Regions from separate parts of the Homo sapiens genome. Here regions 1, 2, 3 and 5 are each linked to region 4. The links are contacts of gene promoters, found by promoter capture Hi-C in human tissues and cell types (Jung and others, 2019). All regions are on one chromosome and are shown on one strand. The core of a region is centred on a gene start or on the middle of the fragment in contact, and the rest is flanking DNA. Distances in the headings are between cores, read along the strand shown. Region 1 has its middle 11 kb from the start of PRMT2. Region 2 overlaps PRMT2 (protein arginine methyltransferase 2). Region 3 holds the start of COL18A1 (collagen type XVIII alpha 1 chain). Region 4 holds the start of COL6A1 (collagen type VI alpha 1 chain). Region 5 has its middle 25 kb from the start of LINC00316.

What was found. Contacts are between HindIII fragments. The study calls those that stand out against the background at their distance.
Region 1: a fragment that was not itself captured here is called in contact with the fragment with the promoter of COL6A1 in region 4 in 1 of the 25 tissues and cell types used here (lymphoblastoid cells).
Region 2: a contact is called between a fragment that was not itself captured here and the fragment with the promoter of COL6A1 in region 4, in 1 of the 25 tissues and cell types used here (lymphoblastoid cells).
Region 3: the fragment with the promoter of COL18A1 here is called in contact with the fragment with the promoter of COL6A1 in region 4 in 2 of the 25 tissues and cell types used here (H1 embryonic stem cells and stomach).
Region 5: a contact is called between a fragment that was not itself captured here and the fragment with the promoter of COL6A1 in region 4, in 2 of the 25 tissues and cell types used here (lymphoblastoid cells and thymus).

Annotation. Positions count from the first base shown.
Region 1 is chr21:46,622,527-46,626,858 of GRCh38, reverse strand. No RefSeq gene overlaps it. Among named protein-coding and RNA genes, the nearest start is that of PRMT2, 11 kb to the left of the region's middle. RefSeq lists an enhancer at 1,972-2,472. The HindIII fragment of the contact is 7,233 bases long and covers 1-4,332 here.
Region 2 is chr21:46,646,872-46,651,171 of GRCh38, reverse strand. PRMT2 (protein arginine methyltransferase 2) reads right to left here. Exons shown (of 12, transcript NM_206962.4): 6 at 2,553-2,714; 7 at 1,433-1,597. Among named protein-coding and RNA genes, the nearest start is that of PRMT2, 13 kb to the right of the region's middle. The HindIII fragment of the contact is 3,449 bases long and covers 220-3,668 here.
Region 3 is chr21:45,403,539-45,408,040 of GRCh38, reverse strand. COL18A1 (collagen type XVIII alpha 1 chain) reads right to left here and starts at 2,876. Exons shown (of 42, transcript NM_001379500.1): 1 at 2,800-2,876; 2 at 2,568-2,662. The coding sequence starts at 2,810. It overlaps BNAT1 (breast cancer associated ESR1 regulating natural antisense transcript 1), which reads left to right and starts at 1,679. Exons shown (of 2, transcript NR_183526.1): 1 at 1,679-1,874; 2 at 3,545-4,235. COL18A1-AS2 (COL18A1 antisense RNA 2) reads left to right here. Exons shown (of 4, transcript NR_052004.1): 3 at 1-33; 4 at 421-655. RefSeq lists enhancers at 1-81, 3,021-3,721. The HindIII fragment of the contact is 38,297 bases long and covers 1-4,502 here.
Region 4 is chr21:45,979,533-45,983,667 of GRCh38, reverse strand. COL6A1 (collagen type VI alpha 1 chain) reads right to left here and starts at 1,898. Exons shown (of 35, transcript NM_001848.3): 1 at 1,721-1,898; 2 at 905-1,034. The coding sequence starts at 1,817. It overlaps LOC105372841 (a long non-coding RNA gene), which reads right to left. Exons shown (of 3, transcript XR_937803.3): 2 at 3,816-4,135; 3 at 2,102-2,378. RefSeq lists enhancers at 417-1,277, 1,278-2,140. The HindIII fragment of the contact is 42,283 bases long and covers 1-4,135 here.
Region 5 is chr21:45,314,802-45,318,692 of GRCh38, reverse strand. No RefSeq gene overlaps it. Among named protein-coding and RNA genes, the nearest start is that of LINC00316, 25 kb to the left of the region's middle. RefSeq lists an enhancer at 1-169. The HindIII fragment of the contact is 7,844 bases long and covers 1-3,891 here.

The DNA of each region.
Region 1 (4,332 bases), core at 1,833-4,332, 640 kb before region 4:
TTCTACCGCAGCCGCAGAGCCACAGCTGTTCTGTCTCCCCAGCTGAGGTCCTAGACACTGAGCCACACCAGCACCCTGTGCCAACCGATCATGCCCTGGGAGAAAAATAAAACAGCTGATGCTTTTACGCTATTAGATGGTGGTTTCTTATGCAGCAATAGTAACCAGAACAGAATCAGGTACTTTGAAGTGGGATGCTACCATGACAAAAGCCAAAAAACATTGCGGGTTGGCTGTGGGACTCAGCCCCAGAGAGGAGGCTGGCAGGCATGAGAAGGCAGCTGGCAAGGGACTGAGGAAAAGCAAGGAAATGTTCTGGAAGTGAAGGAAAGAAGGCTCTTGTCATTGAATGACTGGCTTCTTTCACCTGCACATCATGAGAAATGATTAGGGAGAGAGGCACTGGAGAAGGAATGATGGGGTTTTCAAACAGAACTTATAAAGACATGAAGGAGCCAGGATTTGCTGGGCTCAAAAATGAAACTAATTTTCATCCCCAGTTTCTCCCAGCAGAAGATTCTCAAAGAATGAGAGGGCTCAGGGCAAAGTTGGGACCCACAGCCCTGTAGGGAATATGTGGGTTCAGAGCAGACATGAAGCCAAGAGTGGGATTATAAAACCCTCCATTAAGATGCAGAAAGAGTTCAACTGGTGTCTCACCAGCCTTTTCAGAGGCAAAGGGCCTCCCAGGGATGGTACACATGTGCCTCCCAGGCCCCTATTAAGGAGACCTTCTGGGAATCTTAACAGCATTGTTCCACAACAGCCTCACAGGGAGCCCTGAATAGAAAATGGTCTATTTAAAAGAGATCTGCGGTGCAGGTTTTGTCTAATGGAGTGAACATCAATAAAATTTATAGAAAACCCACAAAGTTATTAAAGGAATTGTACTAGAAAAATAAAAGCAGCCTGTGTTTGTGGTTAAGCAGTCTTCTTAGCCTGTAGAAATTCAGGGGCCCACTGGCCTCCTTTCATTTTGTACTATCTGGTTCTTTTAATCCAAGCTGGCTTTTATTTTCTTCTCAGGTGCCTAGAGAATCAGTCCCTGTAGCAACACTGCACCCTAATCACAGACCTGTTGACCTGGGTCAGGTTGGATTTCAGAATCTCTGCAGACTGCCTGCTTTTTGCCTCAGTTTCCCCCTTCTGAGTGGCAGGGGCCAAGGTGTCTGTCCTATCCCCATCCCCATTAGACATAGGGTGAAGAGGTTGGGCCAGGTGCTTGGCTCTTGAGGTCACAAGTCTGTGGATTGAAAAGGAAACACATCGAAGAGGCTGTGCCTGAGGAGCCGTGCCCATGGAGCCTCACCCCGCATGGAGATGGTTAAGTGGTGAGACCTGGAGCTCTGGCTGCCATAATGGCACGAGACCATGGGTGTCTGGGTGAGTCTATTTTGCATGTGTAGGGGGTGCAGCCAGAGGGCAGAATGTGTTTTCCAAAGTTGGTCATAGCAAGGTCTGCAATCCTCCCCACATGCTCTTCTCTTGCCATTTCATCAGGAAGTGGAGTCTGGCTGGGCATGGTGGCTCATGCCTGTAATCCCAACATTTTGGAAGGCTAAGGCAAGTGGATCGCTTGAGGCCAGGAGTTCGAGCAGCCTGGCCAACATGGTGAAACCCCATCTCTACTAAAATTACAAAAATTAGCCAGGCGTGGCGGTGCATGTCTGTAATCCCAGCTACTCAGGAGATGAGTTACAAGAATCACTTGAACCCTAGAGAAGGAGGCTGCAGTGAGCTGAGATTGCACCACTGCACTCCAGTCTGGACAATAGAGCAAGACTCTGTTTCAAAAACAAAAACAAGCAGAGTCCAAGCACCTCCTTGAGTCAGAGCAGGGCATTTCCTCCTGCTCCGATCCACGACAGCAGCATTTCATGTGGTTGGGACTTGGACTCTGGAGGCAGGCCCAGGTTCAAATCCTGGCTTTGACACTGAGTGATACAACCTGAGCCTCAGTTTCCCCCATCATGATGGAGAAACATGCGTTTCCTATGCAGGCTGAGGCTCCGAAGGCTGCTAAGCTCCTTTCCCTGCTAAGGGGAGGTCCTCATTTATGCCATTGCCCAGGTTTCCTTTGCATGTGACTTATCACACGGTGCTCTGGAGCCCTGTCCTTGGAGACTCACACCCCTGTGACCAGGATGGGGTCAGGGCTGTGCTTAATCAGGTGACTGTCCAAGGAGCCCCCTTCCACCTCCAGAGTTCAGAACTCAGTGTCTTACCTTCCTCCCAGGAACCAGAGCACACTGAACACGCAGGGCCTGGCAGGGCACCTGACGGCCAACATGTTGGGGGGCATTGGAGCACACAAATCAACACTCCAGGGGCAGGAGTGGTTGTCACTTGAGTTGCAAAATCTAGGGACCCTAAAAGAGTCCCTGTGAGGCCTGGCTCCTTGGTGTGCTGAGCAACTGACCCATCCCCCACACTCTCCTACCCAAAGAGGCCTCTGGAGCCTTCCTACGGCCAAGGGACCTGGCCAGCCGCACAGGCTGAGGACAGAGCGAGCTCGGCCAGGGCTCCGTGAACAGCTGTCCTTCTGTGGCCATCATCACAGCAGCAGCAAGTTCAGGGTGGGGCATCAGCACGGGGTGTGCGCTCTCTCATCCTGGGCATCTGAGTTTTTCGTTTTAAAAGTTGTGATCACCAAGACGCTGTCCTTGTCTGCCTCTGCATCTCATGGTCCCCGCTGTGGGGAGGCGCGCAGCCAAGTGGGCCTCGCCTGGGGAAGGGAGGTGCATGCATGCGACTCAGGCAAACACGGCCCCTGGGCCTCGTTCCAGGGAGCCCCAAAGGCAGAGTTCAGAAGATTGCAATTAATTTTCTAAATTAATACACAATAACAGATAATTAATTTTAAATGTTGAACTTAATGTTAGTACATATGTTACAGGAATTACATCAAATTATTTGATTTTATTATGGAGTCTGTCTTAAGTTTTAATTCCAAAAATAGTTTATTCCTCCTATGATTTAAATTTTATTTACATTAGCACTCAATAGAACTACTAGATGCTAAATATACCTGTGGATGTATTCCAGTTACACTAAAAATTGAAATATAGTGCCAGGTTATTCACAGTGTTTTTAACTTGAAGTTTGTTTTTCAAAAGCAAAAGAGGTTATTGTTCTGCAGTAGCAAAACTGCTAGGGATTGAGCTTCCAGATTTTTTAAAATTATATTTATATATTTAGACGGAGTTTCATTCTTGTTGCCCAGGCTGGAGTGCAATGGTGCAGTCTCAGCTCACTGCAACCTCTGCCTCCTGGGTTCAAGCAATTCTCCTGCCTTAGCCTCTCCAGCAGCTGGGATTACAGGCACCTGGCTAATTTTTTTTGTATTTTTAGTAGAGATGGGGTTTTACCGTGTTGGCCAGGCTGGTCTTGAACTCCTAACCTCAGGTGATCTGCCCACCTCGGCCTCCCAAAGTGCTAGGATTACAGGCGTGAGCCACTGTGCCCAACCGAGCGTCCAGATTTTAGGTTCTCAGCTTTCCTCTTCTCTCATACGTTTGGTATGTTCTTTATTTAAATCTCTAAAATAAAACAACTCATTTCCACCTCCTGGGTCGTTGCTGTCGAGGTGGTTCAATTCCACGCAGGCATTTTTACAGTCAAGGCGTGAGCATCCTCACTTGTTAAGTAGAGTTTGTTTGTTTGTTTTTCTTTGTTTTTTTGAGACAGAATCTCTGTGACCCAGGCTGGAGTGCAGTAGCAGGATCTCTGCTCACTGCAACCTCCATATCCCGAGTTCAAGGGATCCTCCTGCCTCAGCCTCCCAAGTAGCTGGGACTACAAGCATGCGCCACCACACCTGGCTAATTTTTGTATTTTTAGTAGAGACAGGGTTTCACAATGTTGCCCAGGCTGGTCTCAAACTCCTGACCTCAAGTGATCCGCCCGCCTCAGCCTTCCAAAGTGCTGGGATTACAGATGTGAGTTAAGCAGTTTGAACAATCGATTGATTAGACTTTTGTGGCTGCTCATTTGGGCATGTGGCCGAGTACTGTGCTGTCCTGGCCCACAGCGTCCTACAGGAAGGGACGGGCTGTAAGACGTGGGATCTTCTGAAGTCGTCAAATGAAAAACACTCCTGTTGAGTGAAAAAACAAATAGGCTAATCCTATGATTTTTTAAACATTTAAACCTGACATGATTTTATTGCAAATTTCCAAGAATCCTTAAAAGTTATAAAAAGCATAATCAAAATAAATATCTGTGACAGAGTTCTACAAAAGGGAAAACTCAGTTTTCCTTTTGAGATCTTGCCCCAGCATCAGTTCAAACACTTCCTCTTATATTTCACCAAGACTCAGTTCCTGAGCAAGA
Region 2 (4,300 bases), core at 695-3,194, 670 kb before region 4:
ATGGTCAGTCCTGGAAGTCTGTGCACCTCCCACACAGAGGGGCCTCCCCTCACACAGAATGTCCCAGGCCTCTCTGCATGCTGGGGCTGGACCACAGCCAGTCCCTGGCCTCCAGTCCCGGCCACACATACCCAGGGGCCTCCAAAACACAGCCCACCTCTTACTCCATCACTCACACACCAGTGGCACTCCCTTCGGTGTCCAGGACGTGGCACAAAGTCCTCAGACACACAGTTCCCTACATCTGGCCTCTGCCTCCCTGATGCAACACAGTCTGGCCAATCCGGCCACTGGGCAGCCCTGGAACACGGCAACACGGTGAACACAGTGGCTACTCCTCTCCCCTCCCTCTGCCCCACGTCCCTCCTGTGTCCCTCTCACCCAATCCAGGGCACAGCCGGACACTCCAGCAGCCAGGCTTCCCCGTATCACCGCCCACACAACCTTGGCCTCACCACAGCCTCACTCCTGCTCTGTCCTCTTTTTGTCCCCGTGGCCGGGGCACCAGCTGTCAACAGATACTTATTGAATGGGCGCTGCTGTTCAGGGCAAAGGCAAATGCCCCTTCAGGGGGTAGGAGTGGAGCCCGTTTCTCCTGTGTGTCATCTTATGGCTCCACAGATGTTATTAATAAGCCAAGTCACAGCATGGACATTGAGTCTATTTACATTTATCTTCTGACAACAAAATTTCAACAGGACTAAAAGCCCAATGCCATCTGTTACCAGGGGAAACCGTTTCCTGGAAAGCAGCAGCCATACTCCACACTCCTTCACCCAGACCCCATCTTTCTGGGTCTCTACACTGAGACAAAGTTTCAGGTTGGGATGCTCCACTACAATGTCCTGTGTCCCAGGATGCTGAGCCCAGGAAGACAGCGCGGGCAGACAGCATCCAGCCACACTCCCGTCAACTTCCCTCCAAGCAGACAGCGTTTGTGCAGGGCATATTCACAGGCAACCAGAAAACAGTCCACTTCCACCCACATGTGAAACTCAGGGTGAGCAACCCTGACAGGACAGGCATATGCTGGCCCTACAGATGCCCAAGTGGCTTCACAGCATCACTGGGGCCAGTCTAAGGCGAGGAGACCCTGGCCAGGGACGAAGGCCCTACTGGCATTAAAGAAACAGCCTTACCTGTTAGGCACAGGATTTTTACAGATCCCCGAGGAGAACACAGTTCATGTAAATCACTCATGAAAATGTTACATGAACTTTGACTTAAATTTCTCATAAAGGCATTTTTTAAATCAGGTGAAAATTCAAGACACTGAGCCAATGTCCACACAAGAAATTAATTAGACCTCACATTAGGGAAAACATCAAAATGAATCACGCACGACCCTTGAGATCCTGAGGTTGGCCCAGCCGAGCCCGTGCTCAGAAGCCCCCCAGCTCCGGCCCCCAGCTGCCCGCACGCCCGCCCTCACCAGCAGGCAGGTCCCCATCCACTCAGACACCAGCACGTCCACCTTCTCGGGCAGCACCACATCCTCCACCTTCTGCTGGTACACGGTGATGATGTCAGCAAAGCCGTTCTGCAGGACCAGCTGCCCCGTGTGCTGTGCCATCTCACTGGCCTCCACCGCGTACACCTGCAGCAGCAGAGGCACCGTCAGCGTACATCCGGCCGGCACACGGCCCGTCATCTACTCTCCTGAGTCACAACCAGCATCACGAGAAATGGTCAATGACACAAGAGGGAAGCAGCATTCCAGACAGCAGAGGCAGCGAGGACTGGCCACACCTGCCCCTCCAGGGGCACCCAGAAAGGAGCCGCCTCTAACCCTCCCAACTGCCCCCACCTCCCGGACAAGACACAGACGCAGGGCTGCAAGTGGATGGAAGACTCGCATGCCCGAGCCGGCTGCCACACGCACAGCAATCTTAATCCATGACCAGCACAGCAACTTCTTAGCACCCAAGTGACAATGCTGGTCTGTGCCACATCTGAGGCCTGTCAGACAATTTCAAACCCAGGTTCTCAGGGAAGGGTCTGGTGGGAAGCACCCAAGCGCTGGGTCCTGGGTCCTGCAGAGCCTGGACTTGGGTGGACACTGTGCTGCGACCCCACCCACTGTGTAAGGAGTCTCCAAGGCTGCAGCTCGGCTCAGCTCAGCACAGTATAGACGGCCTAAGAGGGGTGGGGAGGGGGCCCAGCGTGTGCATCCCTCCCAACCCCATGAGACCAACCACACCCAAGGCCCAGCACAGACATGTGGGTGCACGTGTTTCTCTACTCAACTGAAATAAACGTCTCACAGAACATACCCCGCCCCACGCAATTCACGGGATATTGTCTATTCTGCCCTACTCCCGTCTGTGCTGTCTGCGACTCATTGTACGCGGGCGCCACGGCCTCTAGCACGCGGTCTCCACGCACTGCTATTTTACCGACCCTGAGCCCCACGTGCAGGGTGCTCAACAAGACCATGGAGTCACCGGTGAGCCCCCAACAGCTCAGGGTCACAAGTCAGCACACTCAGAGGCCACCTCGGACGTCACCAGCCTCGGCACAAACACCCGGGATGCGCTCGAGACCCCACTCACCGCTCTAGGCCGCGCATAGTGTGCACAGAAGAGACTGATGATCCCAGTCCCACAGCCCACGTCCAGGATGACTTTATCCGTCAGGGATTCTTTATTCTGCAGGATGACACTGTGGTATTTAGTTGTTCGTGGCTGGTCTGCCAACATCTCCAAGTGGAGTTTCTGGAAGAAATGCACATTCAGAATCACTGCCTGTGACCTAGAGCCATGCTGAGGTCTGGACTGAGATGGAGGGTCAGAGCCACAGCTGATGACCCCTGACCCCAACACCCCTATGGAAGACTATGGAAGGCCTGGACATCACTGTCAACCAAGTTAATCTCATTGGTATTTAGAGAACACTTCACCCACCCCCTTATAACAGTAATAATACACAAAAAATACCTAGGAACAAATTTAACAAGAAAGGTGCACAACCATGTATGACAAAGAGATATTGTCCTTATCTTAAAATACTAAGAGATATTAAACAAAGCTTAAGTAATCAGAGACTGAGAGTCAATGTTATAAAGATGTCAGCTCTCCCAAAATTAACATAAACATTCCATGCAGTACCTACTAAAGGAGAAAGCACAACAAAATGATAATAAAATTAGTTTCAAAACAGTAAGTGCCCAAGGCTAATGAGGAAAATGCTTTAAAAAAAAAAGAACTGCTGGAGACCTAGCTCTTGCAGATCCTACAAAGGTGCAGTGATGGAAATGACGAAGCACTGGGAACTGCAGTAAACAGACCAGTGAAACAACAGGAATTCTACAGCAGACCCCTGAAATCCAGAGCAGGACAAACGCACCGTTTCACATCAACGCGAAGGGAACTGTCCAGTAACTGAGGCTGGGGTCGCTGGAGATTTGTGGGCATACATTAGGGCGGAATTTTACATTATATTTTTTACAACAAATAATTTCTAGATTTTTTATTATTTAAAATCTCATTGTTTAAAATAGAATCAGAAGGCCAGGCAGGGTGCCTCACCCCTGTAATCCCAGTACTTTGGGAAGCTAAGGTGAAGGTCCCTTAAACCCAGGAGTTTGAGGATACAGTGCACTATGACTGCACCACCGCACTCCAGCCACTCATACGACAGAGTGTGACACCATCTCTAAAAAACATAAAAAACAAAAATAAAATAACACAGAATCATAACAGTTCTGAAAACAAAAGTGTGGGTATTTATAATCTTATAGTGAGGAAGGTTTTTCACAAAGAAAAGAAAAAGAAGTCACAAAGAAAAGAAAACCATATTAGGCTATACAAAGAAAAAAGTTGTACGTGGGAAAAAATTTCACAAAGTCACAAAACTTCACAAATTCAGGCTAAATTACTTAACACACGAATCAACAAAAATCAAAAGGGGCAAATAATATGAAAGTTTACAAAAAAAGAAAAAATACAAAAGGCCCATAAACACATAAAAGATAATCAATCTTACTTAAAAAATGGAAATCAAAACTAAAAGATGCCATATTTAACTTTTAAGATCAAAGTCCTTTTTCACTTTGATTTGTGGTAGGGAAATGAGCTTTCACACACCATCATGCCACGGTCTGAAATGTCTCCAAAAATCCATGTACTGAAACTTAATCGTCAGTGTGATGGCATTAAGAGGCCACCTTTGGAGGTTACTATGAAAGGGTTTGTGGTGAAAGAGGTGCTCCCAGCCCTCCCGCCTTCACCACGTGAGGACAGCCATGAGGCGCCATCTTGGACACCAATGCCAATGCCTTCCCAGCCTCCAGAACTGCGAG
Region 3 (4,502 bases), core at 1,627-4,126, 580 kb after region 4:
CCTTGCATCTGAATCCTGAAGACTCCCCAGTGGGTGAGCCCAGAAACAAGACCACCTTCTACGCGGGAGGGTCTCTCGTTACCTAGGCGCCGTGTGCCCTGGGGTGAGCCACACCCACGGAACCCAGGTCACTGAAGCCCAATCCCTGCAGGGCTTCAGAGGGAGTGGGAAGTGAGGCGCAGGGACCCTGCCTTGTACCCACATCACTGGGCTCTGTGCTGACCACCAGACAGGAGGAGGTCCTAGTGGTGAGCAGGGGCAGGACATGCATCTTCTGGGGGCTGCAGGGAGGCAGGGGTAGAGCTTGATGCCATGGTGGAGTGTAGGAGAGGCTCAGAGACAAGGAGACTCATGAGACCAGGCTCCTGGCGTGGCCATGGGCATCAGCAACTGCCCCGGTGACACAGTCCTCTTCCTCAGCTCCACTCTGACTCTGAAGCACTGACTACAAGCACCTCTTGGGGGTCACGGCTGTTTCGCACACACAAATCCACCAGAGGAGAGATTGCAGGTAAGACTGCGGCACCTCACACAGCTGGGTGGCAACCAAGCGGCCAAGTGACCACTGAGCCCAGGTTCCTGATTACAGGGAAAGGCACAAACACCATTCAAGAACCTCAGCATCACAGCGACCAATCCTGACACAAAAAAGCAAAAGACTTTTCTAGGGATCAAGTGTAGCACAGAGACATGGAAAGATGCATCATTCTTGGCCAGAAAAAAATGTGCAAATCAGCAAACTGGGCCTCAGGCCTTCAACTCTCAAGGGTGCTTTTTAAGTTTTGAGAACAACTGAAACCCTCGCCAGAGTCAGCATTTCAGACACATTAGCTCTTCTCCAATAACCCCTAAAGGGGGCGACTGTTTTCCCATTTCAGGGGGACTTGGTCCTGCAAGGACTGGAACCCGGGCTGCGGGTGGCCTGGAGCCTGAGTTCTCTCCGGGCTGGGGGAGGGGTGTGTGGGCAGCATGCAGACCCCTCTCTGGGCCTGCTTCCGCTTCAGCCTCCTGGCCACCCGCCTTCCACATTCCATTAGACACCTCCAAGGGGCCTTCCTGCCCCAGAGTGCTTGAGGCTGGGGCAGGCCCGGGACAGAAGAGGAACGCACAGCCCATTTGGCCAACCGTAACTTTCCCTGCTGAGGCCTGCACTGACTTTACACCCCACTCTTAGATCTCAAGATTGCATCTCACCAAAGCTCGCGTTAACAGTTTTTGTTTTTTCTATTCAAAGGCAAAAAAACCATCACCTTTTACATCTCCTCCTTGATAACGTTTCATAAGCTCGGGCTTGGGCCCCAGCGTCTTTCCTTTCCTTTGTCCCTGTGCGATTTAAAACATCCCGCCCAGGGAGCCCTGGTCTGGGCCCTGTGGGCGCTGGCGGCCCGGCTCAGAGGGCAGCTCTGCGGCCTGATTAATGGCCCCGAGTGACCCTGGGCCGCTGTGGGGATGGAGCCGCGTGAGCTCACAGCCGCTCTCCGCCCGTGTTTCACCCCCTAGAGTTCACACAGTAAATGAGGAATTGTCTACGACTCAACAAGCAGGTGTTTTCAATACATCTACTTATAAGCTAGCTACTTTTTTGAAAGGTCTATGCTACTATTTAACCTGGTGACTAAGTCGATTGGAAACAATGAAACAAATTATTACAGGAATCCAGACGACATCCCTCCCTCCCCCTTTCCTGCTTCCTCACCCGCTGTAGCAAGCAGGTGTGGAGTCGAGTCGGAGGCAGGCGCTGGCTGCGTGGACCCCCGGGTGGGATTCCACCCGCGACAAGGCACCCAGGCCCTTTGGGCGGGGCTCCCCTGGGGTCCGCGTCCCCGCCGCCTCCCCCGGGCCTCTGCTGGGCTGGCTGGAGGCAGGAGGCCCCGGTTAGCAGGTGGTGGGGAACTGGGTCCCGGGGTTGGAGGCAGGAAGGTCCCCACGGGCCCCGCGCACCGTTTGCCGCGCACGGGAAGCGGCGAGGCCGGCGGGGCAGCGGCTTCTGGGCATTGTTCTCGGACCGCGCGGCGCTCGGTTGGCATCAAAGGGGACCGCGCAACCCGACACCACGGCGGGCGCGGGGACAGAGGCCTGAGGGCGGCGGGGACAGAGGCGCACAAGGCCCGGCCCGCGGCGAGGAGCCTCAACAGGTTGGAAACGCGGAGACGACGCCCCGCGCTCCGCCGCCTTCCGCCCGCGGTCAGTCCCGGGACCCGGCGCTGCGGGGACGAGGCCGTGACGGCGACAGAGGCCGCGTCTCCCGAGACCCCGCGGCCCCGCCCCGAGCCCTCCCGGCACCGACGACCCCGCCGGCCGCGGAGGTTCGGTCCCCGCGCGGGGACTCCGGCCGCTCGCACCGCGCACCCCTCCCGGCCCGGACCCCGCGGGGAGAATGAATGGGCGGGACTCCGGCCACCCCGCCCCGCTCCGTCCGGCTCCGGCGCCTCCTGCGCGCGTGGGCAGGGCCGGGGCTGAACCCAGAGCGGCCGGGGCGGGGGTGAGGGAGCCGGGCGGGGACCCCAGCCAGGGCGGCGAGGCCGGCGGGCACCGGCGCGAACCTTCCCGTCCCGCCCGGGTCTTACCTGGCTCCGCGGAGGCCGCGCGGACCCCGAGCAGCAGGACCAGGGGCGCGAGCACGTCCAGGAGGCGCCGCCGCCGCGGCCATGGCCAGGGGCACCTGCGCGGGACAGGCACGGGTCAGACCCCGCAGGACCCCCGCGACCCCCGCAGGACCCGGCCGAGCCCCGCGACCCCCGCGACCCCCGCAGCCGCATCTTGGCGTCCCCCAACCCCTGCCCGCAGCCCCGGCCTCACCTCGGCGCCATGCTCTCCCCAGGACCGTCAGCGCCGCGGGATGCTGCCTCCTCCGCCGCGGTGCACCCGCTCGGACCGCCGCGCTGCAGCCGCCGCCGCTGGGAGGCCGGGCAGGGGGCGGGCAGGGGCCGGGCAGGGGCCGGGCAGGGGGCGGGGCGGGCGCGGGCAGGGGGCGGGCGCGGGGCGGGGCCGGGCAGGGGCCGGGCAGGGGGCGGAGCGACGAGCAGGGCAAGGCCCGGGGAGGGGAGAGGGGGGCGGGCGCCGCAGCGGACCTGCGGCTGCGAGGACGGGGCGGGCCGGGACCCGGGGGCGGCGGGGACGGGCGAGGACGGACGGGGACACGTCCCGCCCCGAGGGAACCGCCCGAGGCTGCGACCCAGCACAGGGCCCGGGGGCTGCCCCGCGAGGAAGCCCAGGTTTATGCGGAAGGTGAACACCGCTGCCCGCCGGGCTACGACCCCAGCCCCTGAGTCCGGTGGGGCAGCGGGAAGGGGGGAGATTTGAATAGAGTCACCGCGGGGGGGACGGGACGGAGGAGGAAGCCGGCACCTCCGGCCCGCAAGGCCCCTGCAGGGTCCTGCCCCGGCTGCACGGAGGGACGGACGCGAGACAGGAGGGGCGTGCGAGGGCCAGATCTGTCCCCAGGTCCCCCTGTTCCCAGGGCGCGGCCCAGCAGAGCCTCTTCCTCCCCAGTTCCCAGGCTCCTCCTCCCTCCCAGGTGAAAACCCTGTTTCTATTTCTTCAGGGCCAGCATCCTGAGCCCCACCTGCAGGCCCTGGGCGCTTTCCTCCTGGCAGCTGTGCCCCCACCCGACCGGACCGCTCCCTGCAACCAGAGAGCCCTCACACCAGCAACACCCCCCAGCCTGCTCCCTCCTCGTGTGCGCGAAACTCATGGCACTGGCTTGACGGCTTTCTCTGAAACCCTCTGATTCCGCCTGGCCCATCCACACTGTCCCTTCCCGGCCAGGGCTCATCTCCTATGCCTGGACCAAACAGCGTAGTCTCCAGTCTCCCTGATCTCCCCACACGTGGCCCCACCCATCCTCTGAAGCAGCCCCAGGAGGCAGCAGTGACTTCACACTTCTAGTGCCCGGCCCTCCCGGCCCTCCTCTCTGGGCTTGCTTGCCAGGGTCCTCCCAACCTGACTGCTGCCTCCCACCTCCTCTCCGCCCCTGGAGCTCTCCAGCCGCAGCCGCGGGGCCTGCTTGGGATTCTCCTCTGCTGGCATCATCCCTGCCTGCCTCAGCCTTCCCAGGCCCAATCCTGCCCGATCTCACCTCTTCCCGCCCAGCCACCTGGTCGGGTCCCGACCAGCATCTGCCTTCAAACCTGGAGTCCTTCCCTGAGTGCTTGCGGTGCACTGTGAGGAAGGAAATCAATGTAAAGGATTATGACCCACATTTTTTAAAAATAAAAAGATTAAGGAGAACAGCATAGAGTAGAAGTGGTCATCGCACACTTCTGCAAAACTTTTGTTTCTCAGGTGGATGGAGGAGTGAGTCTGTGTGTGTCTATCAGGGTTTGGTGGTGTCTCTGCAGTGCAGTGGGTGTGTCTGTGTGTCTGCTGTGTGTGTGTCTGTGACCGTACCTTGTGTGCATGTGTGTGCATGTCTCTCTGTGCTGTGTGTGTGCATGTGTGTGTTTCTGTAACTATGTACAGTGTGTGCATGTGTGTCAGCCTGTGTGCGTGTGAGTGTGTGT
Region 4 (4,135 bases), core at 649-3,148:
CCCCCCCCCAAACACTGCCGCACGGGCCTGGCCATGTCCACTAAGCTCAGGGTTCCTGGTACCAATGGCTCCTGCTGGGCACGGTGTGGGCTGGAAGGTCCACCCTGCTGTTACCGGCAGCCTCTGACTGTGCCCCTTCTGGTGGCGGGAGGCTCCGGCCCAGCGGCCAGTCAGCAGGGTCAAGGAGGACGGGGGTTCCTACGCCGGCTAAGCTGTGTCCCCACTGCCAGGACCCGTCTCAGTGGGGGAGCCCCGTTCTACATGCCCCCCCCTCAGCGGCCCTGTGCACCCACAGGACCGACTCCCCTCTCCCCCCGGTCTGTCCTCAGCCACACGCACAGATGGAGGAACGTGGAGCAGAGGGTGCCGTGTCCCAAGCCCAGAACCAAGCCTGGGGGCCCTGGGGCTGCAGAGCGACACCCCTCCTGGCTCCCGAGTCGGGGACCTTCAGAACGTGGGATCCAGGACCCAGGTAGAGGCTCTCACTGCCCACGGAACAAACCAGGGTCCAGGTGGTTAGTGAGGGGCTCCCGCGCACCAGGCAGGACTGCGTGTCTGGGCCAGTGCGCTGAGCCCTCTCGGTCAGCCTGCGGGAGCCTCTCTTCCCTACATCTCAGCCTCACTGTCACCTCGGCCCTGCTGAACAGGTGCCACCCCCGCGAGCAGGGTCTCAAACCAGCTCACTCTGGAAGGCGCTGGGAGAGGCTCAGACCAGCTCACTCTGGAGGGCGCCGGAAAGGGCCCCGGCCTCACTCTGGAGGGCGCCGGGAGGGGCCCCGGTCAGGGCAACGCTCGCCCAACCTTAGGAGGTTGAGGCCGTCGCACCCGTGTTCCCCTGGGCCCCCACCCCTCCCTCCAAGAGGCCCAGAAGCACAGGAGGAAGGTCACGGGGCGTCCCTCCTACCTGTCCCTCAGGTTGTCGATGAAGCGCTTGGTGAAGGACTTGACTTTGTCCACGAGGGCCCCGTAGGGCTTCAGCCTCAGGGCCACGCTCTCAGAGGTGTCCAGCACAAAGAACAGGTCCACGGGGCAGTCTGGCCGAAGATGGAGGAGAGGGGCCTTCAAGCTCTCGCCCCATTCCCCGAGTCTCTGCTGGGCCTGCCCTCCCGGCCAGCCCAGCGCCTGCAGCACAGAGCCCCGGGCCCGGAGAGGCTCTCCCGGGAAAAGGCAGCAGGACGTCCCTCGGTGGGGACGGTGGGGAGGGGGTGGAGTGAGAGACCCCAAACCGCTCCTGTGCCTCGAGGGGAGTCAGAAACCTTCACAACCTCCCCCGAAGGGCAGGGCGTCCCCGGCACGGGACCGGACAAGTGAGACCTCACGGGAAGGTTTCTCGCTGGATTCAGAACCAGCAGCGCACGACTTCTTCTAGAACGGGGGTCGGGGGGGCCGTGCGTCTGGACTCACTGCCAGGTGAGGGGTCAAACGGATTCACGGGGCGCCGAGACAGCCCCGCACCAGCTCCCCCTCGCCAGGGAGCCCCTCCCGAGCTGCCTGCGGTCCGGCCCCGCTGAGAATGCTGAATGCTGAGCCTCTAGGGGCCCCGGCCAAGGCCCGGTGGGGCAGAGCTGGGCGCTGCAGCCGCCCCGAGCGGGGAGTGGGGTTCAGGGGCTCCAGGCCCCCAGTCTGCAGTTCCACGCGTGGGAGGGGACCCCGCGCATCTGGCCCTGGCCGGCAGCAAAGAGCGGGGGGTCTGGAGCCTGCACCCCAAGCCACCACTCACCCTGGAAGGCCACGGCCCTCGGGGTCTCCGGCTCATCCTGCGCGGCTGTCCAGCAGGCCTGCAGCAGCAGGGGCAGCAGAGCACGGGCCGCCCTCATGTCTGGGGCCTGCGGTCACCACACAGCGCGGCCAGGGCAGAGTGGGCCGCCGCCGCCGCCCAGAGACCGAGGCTGCCTTCTGCTCCCAGCCAGAGTGAGAGCGGAGGGCAAGGAGGGGAGGGGCGGGGCGAGAGGGGCGGGAGGGGAGGGGAGGGGCGGGAGGGGAGGGGAGGGGCGGGGCGGGAGGAGAGGGGAGGGGAGGGGAGGGGCGGGAGGAGAGGGGAGGGGCGGGAGGGGAGGGGCGGGGCGGGAGGGGAGGGGCGGGGCGGGGCGGGGAGGAGCGGCCCATGAGTCACCACCTCCTTGCTGGGGTCTCTCCCTCCAGAACCGGCAGCAGCTCCGAGCCCAGGGAGAAGGCGGTTTCCCTGGCTGGCTCGCCGCGGCCTGCAGTTCAGTTCCCGTGTCAGGGAGGAGGAAACTGCAGCAGCTGAATCAAACGTCTGAAAACCAGCGTGTCACCCAGGGAGAGTTCCTTGAAACATCTTTCGGTAGTTTCCAATCCAGACGTCTCCATGCGGGACGCACGGGCAGGCTCACTCGCCTCTTCCCACCAACCGCCTCCTGCAGAGGACCTCGCCGTGAGCTGAATTGTTGCTTTATCAGATCTCCGCGTTCTTTTTTCACGTCAATATTTCTTCACAGTATAGTCGGATACGTATTTGCCAAAGATATTTCAGTTTGTACCGTGGGAAGACAAAGTTGCTCACAATATAGTTGTTATATATGCTGTGTGTGGAGACAGAGAGACAGAGACAGAGAGACAGAGAGAGACAGTGAGAGAGAGACAGAGAGACAGAGACAGAGAGACAGACAGAGACACAGACAGAGGAGAGACAGAGACAGAGAGAGAGACAGAGACAGAGAGAGACAGAGAGACAGAAAGACAGAGAGAGACACAGAGAGACAGAGGAGAGACAGAGACAGAGAGACAGAGACAGAGAGACACAGAGAGACAGAGAGACAGAGAGACAGAGACAGAGAGAGAGACAGTGAGAGACAGAGACAGAGAGACACAGAGACAGAGAGACAGAGAGAGACAGAGACAGTGAGAGAGAGACAGAAAGACAGAGACAGAGAGACAGACACAGAGAGACAGAGGAGAGACAGAGACAGACAGAGAGAGACAGAGACAGAGAGAGACAGAGAGACAGACAGAGAGAGACAGAGAGAGAGACAGAGACAGAGACACAGAGAGAGGAGAGACAGAGAGAGACAAAGACAGAGACAGAGAGACAGAGACAGAGAGAGACAGAGAGGAGAGACAGACAGAGACGGAGAGACAGAGACAGAGAGACAGAGACAGAGAGACAGAAAGAGAGACAGAGAGAGGAGAGAGGGGCTGTCCCTGATATCACCTGGGGGTGGGCTCCAGATGTGGCCAGATGCATCCCTGGCCCACAGAAGGTCCCAGAAGAGCTTTCCCAAAGCTGGAGCTGCTGAGACTTGCCTAACACCAGCCTAAATGTCTTATAATTTTAAAACGTACACAAATTGTTCATACCAAAAACCATGTTAAAGAAACATTTGAAAAAACCTTTAAAATTGATACTTAATTCCACAACTCCACAGTGACTGTTTTTGGATTGCCTTCAATATTTTCCCCACACCTACGTTACAGAAGTTGTAAAGTACTTCTCCTTCTTTTCCTCCTCCTCCTCCTCCTCCTCCTCCTTATTATTATTATTATTATCTAAGGGGCTCACTCTGTCATCCAGGCTGGAACGTAGTGGCCTCATCACAGCTCACTGCAGCCTCAGTCTCCTGGGTTCAGGTGATCCCTCCACCTCAGCCTCCCGAGTAGCTGGGATCACAGGCATGTGCCACCATACCCAGCTAATTTTGTATGTTTTGTAGAGATGGGGGTCTCACGATGTTGCCCAGGCTGGTCTCGAACTCCTGGACTCAAGTGGTCCTCCTGCCTCGGCCTCCGAAAGTGCTGGGATTACAGGCATGAGCCACCGTGCCTGGCCTTGTACACTTACTGTACAGTCAATTTACCTGCCACTGATGTCATCCACACTGTGGCTGTGGGTGCTGAGGTTTGGTGCTGCCTGCTTGGAGCTGTGGCACCAGCCTCTGGGCTCCTGACTCAAGCACAGGGGGCTTCAGGACCTCCGTGTTCTCTTGGCCTCTCCCAGTCTGAGCTGTTTTATCTGCAAGGAGTGCTTGCAGATTTGGGAAAGGAAATAGGAACACGTTGTGTAAGCAAACACCAAGAATGCAGCATTCCCTGCAGTGAGGGTCCCACCACAGGCACACAGCAGCAGGTGGCTGACACACGGTCTGTAAGATGGAAGAGATGCGGACGCCCAGGGACA
Region 5 (3,891 bases), core at 139-2,638, 660 kb after region 4:
TGGAGCTGGGCCGGGGTCGGGGCTGTGACCTCCAGGTTCATTGGGCCCTGGGTGGGGAAAGGCACCCTCCATGTCATGCCCAGTGCATGCAGGGGTCCCCGAGAGGCCTGGGCACCCAGGGACAGCCCCCACCCCAGCCCACCTGGCAGCCACTGCAGGTGACCAGAAGGCTAGTCCCAGGCTGTGGGAAGATGGCCCAGGGCTTGGTGGGGAAGGAACATCAGGGGACGGGGCAGGAAGGGGAATGGAGCCCCTCTGGAGGAGCCTGAAGCCCCTGGGGTGGTGCACGTGGAGTTTCTCAGCCAGAGAAGTGGGGGCCAGAGGAGTGGGGGCAGCCACCCACGTCCTGGAGACGGTGACTGACCTGGAGGTGGTGGGGGGGTTCGATTTTTCATGAGTGGAGGAGCTTGGGGCTCCCCAAGCGCATGTCGGGGGGCACTTCCTGGTTCCTTGGCCTCTGGCCTGTGGGTGCCCAGCCCCTAGGACCAGCCTGGAGGTAACATCCAAATGGGGTGGGATTCCCTGAAGGCCACAGGGACCCCCTCACAAGCCTTCTCCCAAGTACCCCCACCCTGGACCCTCTGAGCTGGCCTGAAGTGGGGGTCTTGGGGTGACCGTCTCAGCCCCTCCTCACGTCCCCAACTCCAGGCTGAGCCAGGCGTGGCCTCCTCCACCGTGGCCTCCTCTGCCATGGGTGCTGAGATTGCCCTGCTTCCTCCCACCCTGTTTCTTCTTGAGATTGGGGTGGGCGGCCTGGCTGGGGACACTTGAGGTCACCCCCGGGCCCCCAAGGCCAATCACGGCAGGACTAGGCGTCCTAAGAGGAGGCGGAGTGGGGATCTGCTCACCAAAGCCACAGAAGAGGATCCCAGGCTAACCCGGGTCCTTGCAGACCGATGGGAATCCATGAAGTCAAACAGGGTGAATTTCTAAGACAAAAGCTGGTGTTGTTTATTTTTTGTGACTGAGTCACTCTTCCCAGCCTCTTCCCAGGATGGAGATGCCAGCATTGTTTCTCGCCCCCTCGCCTCTTTCATGTGTGTCCTCAATGCCCCAGTGAGAAAGGGAGGGACAGACAACAAGCTCAGGTCCCAGCCCCCACCCCACCTACATGCCCATTTCTGCAGCTGTCGGAAGCTGCAGTGCAAGTTCCACGCTAGTGGCTGGTGCTGTGAAGGTACCACGGCCAGGAAGTGAGGTCCCAGAAGCAGCCTGGGCACCCCTGGGCGCTGGGTAGAAATGCAGAGTCCCAGGCTCCAGCCCAGACCTGCTGAGTCAGAATCTGCATTTTAACAAGAGCCGGGGTTCCAGGCCCCTGTTGAGGAGCACTCAGGGGGCTTCCATTGGCCCCAGCTCTAAAGAAGTCGTGCGGCCCGGCCCGTGTACAGGTATGACCATTTGGCCAAGGCTGCCCTTCTCAAAGACCTGGGCGGCACCCTTAGACGGCTTCTTAGAGGCCTGGGTGGGCCCCCCCCCCACACCAGGGTCCGGGTGGGCCAGGGCACCTGCATTCCTACAGCACCAAGGGTGCCCAGGCTGCTGGTTGGGGCACACTTTGAGCCGCTCCCGGGCGTAAGACAGTAAACTCCACCCACAGGAGCTTTTGGCTGCATTTGGGCTAAGGATGGTTTGCACGTGTTTAAATGCTTGGAGAAAAATACAAAGAAAAACATGGACAGAGCAGAGTGGGTGCACGGACCATGTGGCCGCAAAGCTTAAATCCATTACTTTCCAGGCCTCGACAGAGCTGGCTGGTCCCTGCTCTGAGTAACAGAGAAAGTAAAAGAGCCCCCCTAAGAGAGCCGGTTCCCTTTGATAACCACAGCCCCTCACGCCCCGGCCTCCCCCACCTCCCCCGCCTCCGGAGATCACACTCGCGTGCCACTGATGCCTGGTGCCTTCACACTTTCCACCTTTGCCAGGATTTTCTCTGGCTACTATAAGCTGAGCATTCTTTAGCATCTATCATTCCCATGTCCACCACTGGCCTTCTGACTTGGTTTCTGGGGTCTTTGGTGATAAAGTTGTGTTAGCTTCTGCTGCAGTCCACTTTATCTTCTCCTCCTCTGCTCCACGTGGGGCTGCGTCTTTGTTTGGGAGAGTTGCTATTCTAAGGTCCGTGTTCTCCTCTAATATCTTTTTAAGTTCCGGTGTATATGTGCAGGTGTGTTACATGGGTAAACATGTCCCATGGTGGTTTGCCGCACCTATCAACCCATCACCTAGGTATGAAGCCCAGCACACATTAGCTCTTTTCCCTAATGCTCTCCACCCCCACCCTCCCCCAACAGGACCTGGTGTGTGTTGTTCTCCACCCTGTGTCCGTATGTTTTCATTGTTCAGCTCCCACTTATAAGTGAACATGCGGTGTTTGGTTTTCTGTTCCTTTGTTAGTTTGCAGAGGATAATGGCTTTCAGCTTCATCCATGTCCCTGCAAAGGACGTGATCTCGTTCCTTTTTATAGCTGCATAGTATTCCATGGTCTATATGTACCACATTTTCTTTATCCAGTCTATCACTGATGGGCATTTGGGTTGATTCCATGTCTTTGCTATTGTGAATAGTGCTGCAGTGAACATACGTGTGCATGTATCTTTATAATAATTTATATTCCTTTGGGTATATACCCAGTTATGGGATAGCTTCTCAAATGGTATTTCTGGTTCTCAATCTTGGAGGAATCACCACACTGTCTTCCACAATGGTTGAACTAATTTACATTCCCACCGGCAGTGTAAAAGTGTTCCTATTTCTCCACAGCCTTGCCAGCATGTGCTGTTTCCTGACTTTTTCATAATTACCATTCTGACTGGCATGAGAACTCATTGTGGTTTTGATTTGCATTTCTCTAATGACCAGCGATGTTAAGCCTTTTTTCATGCATTTGTTGGCTGCATGTATGTCTTTTTTTGAGAAGTGTCTGTTCATATCCTTTGTGCACTTTTTAATGGGGTTGTTTGTTTTTCTCTTGTAAATTTGCTTAAGTTCCTTGTAGATTCTAAGTGTTAAACCTTTGTCAGACAAACAGATTGCAAAAAATGTTCTCCCATTCTGTAGGTTGTCTGTTCACTCTAATGATAGTTTCGTTTGCTGTGCAGAAGCTCTTTAGTTTATTTAGATCCCATTTGTCAGTTTTTGCTTTTGTTGCCATTGCTTTTGGCATTTTCATCATAAAATCTTTGCCTGTGCCCATGTCCTGAATGGCATTGCCTAGATTTTCTTCTAGGGTTTTTATAGTTTTGGGTTTTACATTTAAGGCTTTAATCCACTTTGAGTTAATTTTTGCATAAGGTGTAAGGAAGGTGTCCAGTTTCAATTTTCTGCATATGGCTAGCCAGTTCTCCCAGCACCATTTATTAACTAGGAAATCCTTTCCCCATTGCGTGTTTTTGTTTGGCTTGTCGAAGACCAGATGGTTGTAGACATATGGTGTTATTTCTGAGTTCTCTATTCTGTTCCATTGGTCTATGTGTCTGTTTTTGTACCAGTACCATGCTGTTTTGGTTACTGTGGCCTTGTAGTATATTTTGAAGTCAGGTAGCATGATGCCTCCAGCTTTGTTATTTTTGCTTAAGATTGTCTTAGCTATGAGAGCTCTTTTTTGGTTCCGTATGGATTTTTAAATAGTTTTTTCTAATTCTGTGAAGAATGTCAATGGTAGTTTAATGGGAATAGCATTGAATCTATAAATTGCTTTGAGCAGTATGGCCATTTTCATAACATTGATTCTTTCTATCCATGAGCGTGGAATGTTTTTCCATCTGCTTGTGTCCTCTCTGGTTTCCTTGAGCAGCAGTTTGTAGTTCTCCTTGAACAGGTCCTTCACTTCCCTTGTTAGCTGTATTCATAGTTATTTTGAACTCTATGCAAATAAACTGGAAAATCTAGAA